2 separate regions of the Homo sapiens genome follow, and region 1 is linked to region 2. The links are contacts of gene promoters, found by promoter capture Hi-C in blood cells and fetal thymus (Javierre and others, 2016). All regions are on one chromosome and are shown on one strand. The core of a region is centred on a gene start or on the middle of the fragment in contact, and the rest is flanking DNA. Distances in the headings are between cores, read along the strand shown.

Region 1 (4,145 bases), core at 462-2,961, 300 kb before region 2:
TTTTTATGTCTTAGTCTCAGGAGTTACAGAGCATCACTTTCACTGCCTTCTATTAGTGAATTAGTAACAAAGGCCTGCCCTTGTTTAAGGGAAGTGTACATAAAACTTATTATTGTTGGGAGAGGGGCACGTTTCTGGAACAGCATGTGGTATAGGAAGTATTGTTGCAGTCAATTTTGGATATTATCCTCAGCCTTCTGGACCCAACTGACATCCCTCCCACATGCACATCCCTCCCACTCACAACCTTCTCCAAGACTCTCCAGAGTCTAATGCCATCAAAGCATCAGCATTAGGAACAAGATCTTGTCATCTGAATCAGATCCTACTATGGATAAGACATCTTGAATGTGGTCCCTAGGGTATAGCTTCTTAAACACTTTTTTTGGTGATCTAAAGCCCTGTAAACTAAAGAGACAAATTATCTGCTCCCCATACATTCAGCATATGGTGGTATGACAGACACAGGATAATCACTCTAGACACTCCTATTCAAAAAGGCAGAAACTAAGAGGCACACAGCAGTCACCATTCCATAACAAGTGTAAAATTCAGCTGGCCCTATGTTTCTAATTCCTTGATGAGAGCTCAGTCCTACTGCTTGGGAATGATTCTCCTCAGCTCTTGGTTCTACCCTTTGGGCTCCTGGTTTTACACTTGAATTATTCTTCCGTTTCCAGAATATGTTGTCTGTTACAGCTGAATTGTTTCACAGCCTACTTCCTGTCTGTAGAAGTTTGTCTAGAAGCTTCTTTTCATTTTGTCCTCTTTTTCACTTTAAATATAAGCCAGCATGTTTTTTATTGACACAATTCTCAACAAGTTTGTGGGTTTCCTGTGAATCTTAATGGGATTTTCTTCATTAGATGCATGATACACATCTTATCAAGATAAGCCCTTCTCCATTTTGGGCTTCCTGTGAGGCTGCTGTAGGTAACACCTTTAATGTTCTGAGTAACCTTATTGATTCAATAGAATCTGGGAAACACATCCTTATGATTCTTAGAGGGCCTTTTCCTCAAGGTAAAAAGACTCTCTGAGGGGCACCTCCTTAGATCTTTTTGAGATCTCAAAGTATCTTTTGGTCACACACTAGATTTGATCTTTGGCTTGAAGCCCTTCTCTATTTGAGAATCTATTTGAAAACAATAAGCAGTTTTATTTTTGAACCCACCAAATCCTGACTCTTTTATATTTCCTTTAAATTTTGCTTGAAAGCAAAACAGGTTTTTGTTTTGTTTTTTAATGCTTATCTCTGTCCTTATCATACTCAGCTAAAAGAAACCAGTTAGCGCTTGTGATGAACACTATACTTGGAACTCTTTTGTTTTTTTTTTTTTAAGACAGAGTCTGGCTCTGTCACCCAGGCTGGCGCAATCTCGGCTCACTGCAAGCTCTGCCTCCCGGGTTCATGCTGCCTCAGCCTCCCGAGTAGCTGGGACTACAGGCGCACACTGCCACGCCCGGCTAATTTTCTGTATTTTTAGTAGAGACGGGGTTTCACCATGTTCAGCAGGATGGTCTCAATCTCCTGACCTTGTGATCCGCCCGCTTCGGCCTCCCAAAGTGCTGGGATTACAGGCGTAAGCCATCGCGCCTGGCCTACTTGGAACTCTTTAGCCAAGTACGTCAGTTCATTAGGTGTAGCTACAGCTATACTTAATTTTCTATTTTCCATGTCTGTCATTACAGATGACAGTTTTGATAAACTTCTGTCACTACATAACAAGAATATCTTTTCCTCCAGGTTCCAAAATTTTTTTTTTTTTTTGCTTTTCTTTAAGCCCTCACCAACAGGCTCTGGAAGGCCATTAGGCTTCTGCTCACAGTCTCTTCAAGGTTCTTCAGCTTCTGCCGCCCCCAACACCAGTCCCAAAGTCATGACCTCGTGTTTATGTTTTGTTGCAGTAGCACCCCTCTTCTAGGTATAAACATATGTTTGGTTATCTGTAGCTGTGTAACAGACCACCCTAAACTTAGTGGTATTAAATAGCAGTGTAATTATAATTATTATATTAACAATAACAAACGTATTAATATATAAATTATGTAAATAAAAATTACTCAGTGCTTTGAGAGGCCAAGGTAGGAGGATTGCTTGAGGCCATGAGTTCAAAACTAGCTTGGGTAACATAGCAGACCTGGCTCTATAAAAAACAAGAACAAAAATATTAGCTGGGTATGGTGGGCATGTGCCTGTAGTCCCAGCTACTCAGGGGGCTGAGGCTGGAGGATCACTTGAGCCCAGGAGTTAGAGGTTACAGTGAGCTATGATCATACCACTGCATTCCACAACCTTGGCAACAGAGCAAGACTCAGTCTCTTAAAAAAAAAATTATTTATATGCTTGAAACACTCTATTTCTGTATTTTCACCCCTCAGATTGTCAATGATGAAAAAAAAATGATACAATACAGTGTGTTGGAGAAAATGTGGGAAAACATACTTTCATATTACTAGAGGGCAGTTTGGCTAATTTGGCAGTATTAATCAACGTGGCAAATTTTACTTTTAAGAATAGACCCAAAATTGTGTATACAGTGTTACTCAGGTAGCATTATTTATTTTAACAAAAATTTAGAAAAAACCTCAGTGTCCCTCAATAGGGGCTGGTTAACAATTAAACATTAAGTAACAATGGAATACCAAATCATGAAATCCCTTGGGAAGCTTTTCACGTACTGATATACAGTGATTTAAAATATATATCCTTGAACTTTAATAGAGAATTGCGTGTATATTATGGTATCATTTGTGTAAAGGTGGGGAAAGTCAGGAGAATATGCACATTTGAATAAATATACATAAAATGTCTCTGGATAAATAAGAAACTGACAGTGTCAGTTGCCTATGGCAAGCATGGGGTGGCTGGGGAAAGAAGTATGAGGAAGATTTTACTCTATGCATATTTAAACTTTTAAAATTATTATTTAAAACCTCAGATTTTAAATTTATTTAGTATTAGGAGCTTTTAACTTATAGTCAAAACACATTCTGTCAAAGGGAGGATGGAGAGTCAAGATAAAAGAAAATAGAAGGTAGATAAAGAAACATTTAAAAATACTGATGCTGGGCGTGGTTGTTCATGCCTGTAATTCCAACACTTTGGGAGGCCGTGGCAGGAGAATAGGTTGAGACCAGGAGTTCGAGACCAGCCTGGTCAACATAGCAAGACCTGGTCTCTACAAACAACAAAAAAAATTATTTAAAGAAAAACTGATGTGACTTTGGGTAGTCTGAAACTCTAGTATTAAATTTGTCCCTGATTTCCTGGAGTCAGTTATCCATTGTGCTTGCTGCTTGATACTCCAGTTAGCTAATTATCCACTGTTGACAGTGCCTTAACTTTTTACCTGAATACCTATTTATACCTAGACAGATAAAAAATGCAACCTTAAATATAATACAACTTCAGTGGCCTCTTAATATTTTCTCCCTAAGTCACAAAAATGGAATTGTTGACATATAAAAATAGATGCATTTCTGTTTACAATTTCATACTACTTTACAGAATAGAAGGAAAACACCCTTTTCTATTAAAAATGGTTCAAAAATGTTGGGAATTCTACAGGGTAGGTAATAATTGAAATACTGGGTTTTTTTTGTTTGTTTGGTATTTTTTGTTTTTGTTTTTGTTTTTTTTTTTAAGGGGAGTGGAGGAGACAGGGTCTCATTCTATTGCCCAGGCTGGAGTGGAGTGACACAGTCTTGGCTCATTGCAACCTCCACCTCCGGGGCTCAAGCTCAAGTGATTCTCATGCCTCAGCCTCCCAAGTATCTGGGACTATAGGCACATGCCACCAAACCTGGCTAATTTTTGTATTTGTAGTAGAGATGGAGTTTTGCCATGTTGCCAAGGCTGGTTCTGACGTCCTGGGCTCAAGCAATCCCCGCCTGCGCCGCTCACCCTCGCCAGCCTCCCAAAGTGCTGGGATTACAGGCATGAGCCACCATGTCAATAATTGAAATACTTTTTAATACCAGTTGTATCTGCTTTACATATTTTAAAACATCTGATTTGTTTTTTTGTTTTTCAAAATGTATGACTGCATTAGTTAGCTGTTTACCTCTAGGCTTTGGCCAGTAGAGTGTAAATTATAACTAGAGTAATTTCATGTGTCCTATGATCATGTGATAGATTTTCC
Region 2 (4,036 bases), core at 1,458-3,957:
TGCAACCTCTGCCTCCTGGGTTCAAGCAATTTTCCTGCCTCAGCCTCCTGAGTAGCTGGGATTACAGGCACATGCCACCATGCCCAGCTAATTTTTTGTACTTTTAGCAGAGACAGGGTTTCACCATGTTGTCCAGGCTGGTCTCAAACTCCTGACCTCAAGTAATCTGCCCACCTCGGCTTCCCAAAGTGCTGGGATCACAGGTGCGAGCCACCATGCCCAGCCAAAAAATAACTGGTTTTGGCTGCATGCAGTGGCTCACATCTGTGATCCCAGCACTTTGGGAGGCCCAGGCAGGAGGAACACTTGAGCCTAGGAGTTTGAGGCCAGCCTGGGCAACAGAGGGAGACTGCTGTCTCTACAAAAAATTAGAAATTAGCCTGGCATGGTGTTGGGTACCTGTAGTTCCAGCTACTTGGGAGGCTGAGGTAGGAGGATTGCTTGAGCCCAGGAGGTGGAGGTTGCAGTGAGCCAAGATCGTGCCACTGCACTCCAGCTTGGATGACAGAGTGAATCTGTCTCTAAAAAAGAAAAAAAAAAAAACGCTGCTGTCCTGGATTTGTAAGTAGCCTGAGTGACTCTTTGCTAGTCACTATTCAGAAGCTTCTCTGAGATCAGCCACTGACTTGGAGAGATAACAGTAAGGCTTTGAGATCTAGAGGCTGATCTTAGTCTGCTGTTTGGAGATCTCTGCCTTAATCCAGAATAATAGCTGAGGATGTCTCTGTGGCTGATGAAGAAAAGGAAGTTTGCAGGCCTGCTTGTCTTGCTGCCCAAGTGGGTCAACCTAATGTGAGTGGAGTGAATGAGGTAGTAAGGGCTTAACAGATGTCTTGTGATTCTGGGACAGGAGGCAGCTTCAAGTTCCTTTTCTTCCTCACCCCCACCTTACACCCATCCTTGGAAGCTGGGATACTGCTGACTCTCATGGCAGCCATAACGCTATCAGCGCCTGGCTTTGCCGACAAGGGGAATCTGGAAGAGAAGGGGAAGGACAGGGGAGACAAAGAGAGGTAAAGAGTGTTGCATCAAGCACATGTGTCAGAAGTGTTCAAACCAGAGCGCCTCCATTTTGAGTGAGGGCTAGAAAAATGAGGCTGGGACTTGCTAGGCTGCATTTCCTGAAAGCTAGGCATTCCTAGCCTCTAGGTGTTTATGGTTAAGAGAACAAATTAATAATGCTTACTAAACAGACCCAGACTTGAGAGAGTCCAGATATCCCGATATCTGGAGAACAAAGGCATTCCTAATTTTGCTTTAAAAATAATAATATTGATTATTGCAAAATATAGTAATTAGGGAAAATTAATCCTTTATCACAAACCCTTGTAGCAGAAGACATCTGCCCATATATACAAGCATTACAAGCATTGTACCTTAGTTGGATATGTCCCTCCTCTTATTTTCAGGAATGCCCTGCTGGAGTGCAGTGGCGATCTCGGCTCACTGTAGCCTCTGCCTCCCGGGTTCAAGCGATTCTCCTGCCTCAGCCCCGTGAGTAGCTGAGACAACAGGCTTGCGCCACCACGCCCGGCCAATATTTGTATTTCTAGTAGAGACGGGGTTTTGCCATGTTGGCCAGCTGGTCTTGAACTCCTGACATCAGGTGATCTGTCCGTCTCAGCCTCCCAAAGTGCTGGGATTACGCGTGAGCCACTGTGCCCAGCCACCACTTTACTTTCTTAATAAACTTGCTTTTACTTTGCACTGTGGACTTACTCTGAATTGTTTCTTGCGTGAGATCGAAGAACCCTCTCTTGGGGTCTAGATCGGGACCCCTTTCCTGTAACACATGGGCCTTGGGCTGATCTCCAAGATTAAGAGGGCAAGATACTCAGCTGCAAGGGTCAGCTGTCGCTGACCCCAGCAGCTGCTCTGCCTTGGCCAACTTACCGGATTTAAATCGCCCAGTGACAGCTTTTCCTCCAGTATTTTCAAAATGCTCCCAATATCCTCACGTTAGAACAATCCAGAAATAGTCTTATGGTAAAACTCTTTTGGGAAATGTGAAAGTAGAGTCCTCCCACCTTTTCCTTTGCAACGCTTTTGCCCCAACCTCGATCGCCCAGGCAGCACATTTTTTCCGGCACCCCCACCAAGGGAAGAACAGAGACATCTCCAAACCAGCTGCCCTGCGCCAAGCTGTTACAAAATAGAGCCACAAGTCTCCCGGTTTATGCAAACATATTTGGCTCGGTGTCTAGGATCTTCTTTTTCAAACTCAGAAGGAGATCACAGGCACACGGCCGCGGTGCTGTGTACGCCCCTCTGAAAGGAAGTTCTGCAAGTCGACCGACTTCACTGGCTTCACTGAAGTCCGGTCCGAAACCACCGGAAAGTTGCAGGCGCACAGTATACGTTCAGCTGTGTCCAAGAAATAACCTATCAATCACTGCCTTAAGCTTTGTTTCCTTCCTGAATTTTCTTATTTTCACGAATATTTATGCTTTCACAAACTGTATGTCATTTCCTCTCCAGAACCAAGGGGGGCTCGCCCCAGCCTGGCCCCCGCCCCGGGTGCGTCCCTGCAGGGGGCGCCCTGCTCTGGCAATGCCCACCGCACCGCAGGGCTGACTGGCCGCGCGCCCGGGGGCGGGGGCCGCCGCGGAGGCATCGTGCTCTCCGATTGGCCGTCCGCGTCCTCGTGACGTCAGACCCCGCCCACGCGCCCCTCCTCCGCATCTGAGCGGGGGAGCGGCGGCCCCCAGCTGAATGGGCGCGAGAGCGGCGCTGGGGGCGGGTGGGGGCGCGGGGTACCGGGCTGGCGGCCGGCCGGCGCCCCCTCATTAGTATGCGGACGAAGGCGGCGGGCTGCGCGGAGCGGCGTCCCCTGCAGCCGCGGACCGAGGCAGCGGCGGCACCTGCCGGCCGAGGTACGTGGCGCAGCCCCCTCCTCGGCGTCGCGGGGGCCCGCGGGCTGGGGGCTGCGGCGGCGACTTGTCTCTTCCCGGGCCGGCTGGGCGCGGCGTTTCCGCCTCGAACCCCGCGGGCAGCGCCCAGGGCACGACACCCTCAGGCGAGCCCGGCTGGGGCGCGGGCGGAGGGTCGTGGTCCCGGGCCGTGTGGACCGGGCGGGGGGTCCCACGCAGGTGTGTACGCGGTAGAGGGTGGGGCGGACCGCCGGGTGTCGGGTCCCGCCGCAGTGGCCCTTTCCCCGCCGCTTTCCGCTGCAGCTCGGGATTTAATTCATTGCTGGAAGCTTCGGAGTTAGCAGAGCCGAGTTAACTCGTTTTCCTGGGATGGGCTTAGGGAACCCCCTGCAAGGTTACTAGCAGCTCCTGAAACCTCTCTCTGCATCCATCGGGGAGGCGTGATGTGGGGCCGCTGGTAGAAATTTGCCGGTGACCTTCCCTGCACCCTCTCTGCAGCCAGCCTTGCGGAGAAGACAGGTTTTGGCGACCTTTTGATTTCTTCTGAATTGTAAGCCGTGGCTTGACGCGGGTGTGCATTCATTGTACGCCTTGCGTGTGTAAGTAACGCAGGGTTTTCCGAGAGCATCCCCGAGGAGCCCTGCCCTTGCCTCACACCCGCTTGGTGACCTTGGCAGACACTGATCCCCCTGTGGGGCTCGGGCTCATGGTCTCTCCTGAGAAGCTTACCCTGCCGATGGCCGAGGTCCCTTCCAGGCCCCGGGTTTTTCTAATCATAAAAAAATACGTTTACGAGGGTAGAGGATCCTGCAGAATCTCTAGCTGACTCGGAAGACGAATTTTATATCCTCATGTCTTAAGTCATGCATGCGGCTTTTGCTTAATTAGGCATCGTTCATTTGAAGGGGAAAATGGTTTTATGTGCTGCGCTTCATCTGGCACCAGTGGTTGCCTGCTCCTCGTGGCAGGGCCGTGCTGGGTGTCACAGAGAGGAAGGAGACTCATCTCCTGCCCTCTGGTGTTTAGCTGCCCTCCCCCGGGCTTATGGCTGCTAATCCTTTTCCACGGAAGGATACAGCTGCTGAAACTGTGGAAGAGGAATCCATTTCTGCTGCATGAAGGGGCACAGACTTGAATACAGTCAGGACAGGTTGTGGTTTCACTTG

Evidence for each region. The method cuts DNA at HindIII sites, captures the fragments that hold promoters and counts their contacts. A CHiCAGO score of 5 or more calls a contact.
Region 1: a contact is called between a fragment that was not itself captured here and the fragment with the promoter of ST3GAL5 in region 2, in 1 of 17 cell types (activated CD4 T cells). The highest score is 5.4, in activated CD4 T cells.

What each region holds. Positions count from the first base shown.
Region 1 is chr2:86,182,365-86,186,509 of GRCh38, reverse strand. All of the region lies in intron 1 of IMMT (inner membrane mitochondrial protein), which reads left to right. Among named protein-coding and RNA genes, the nearest start is that of MIR4779, 8.7 kb to the left of the region's middle. The HindIII fragment of the contact is 1,922 bases long and covers 751-2,672 here.
Region 2 is chr2:85,887,661-85,891,696 of GRCh38, reverse strand. It overlaps ST3GAL5 (ST3 beta-galactoside alpha-2,3-sialyltransferase 5), which reads left to right and starts at 2,707. Exons shown (of 7, transcript NM_003896.4): 1 at 2,707-2,873. The coding sequence starts at 2,792. It overlaps ST3GAL5-AS1 (ST3GAL5 antisense RNA 1), which reads right to left and starts at 2,417. Exons shown (of 3, transcript NR_110569.1): 1 at 1,894-2,417; 2 at 492-521; 3 at 1-6. RefSeq lists silencers at 2,306-2,925, 2,966-3,085 and enhancers at 3,256-3,335, 3,027-3,527, 3,866-3,995, 4,006-4,036. The HindIII fragment of the contact is 797 bases long and covers 2,405-3,201 here.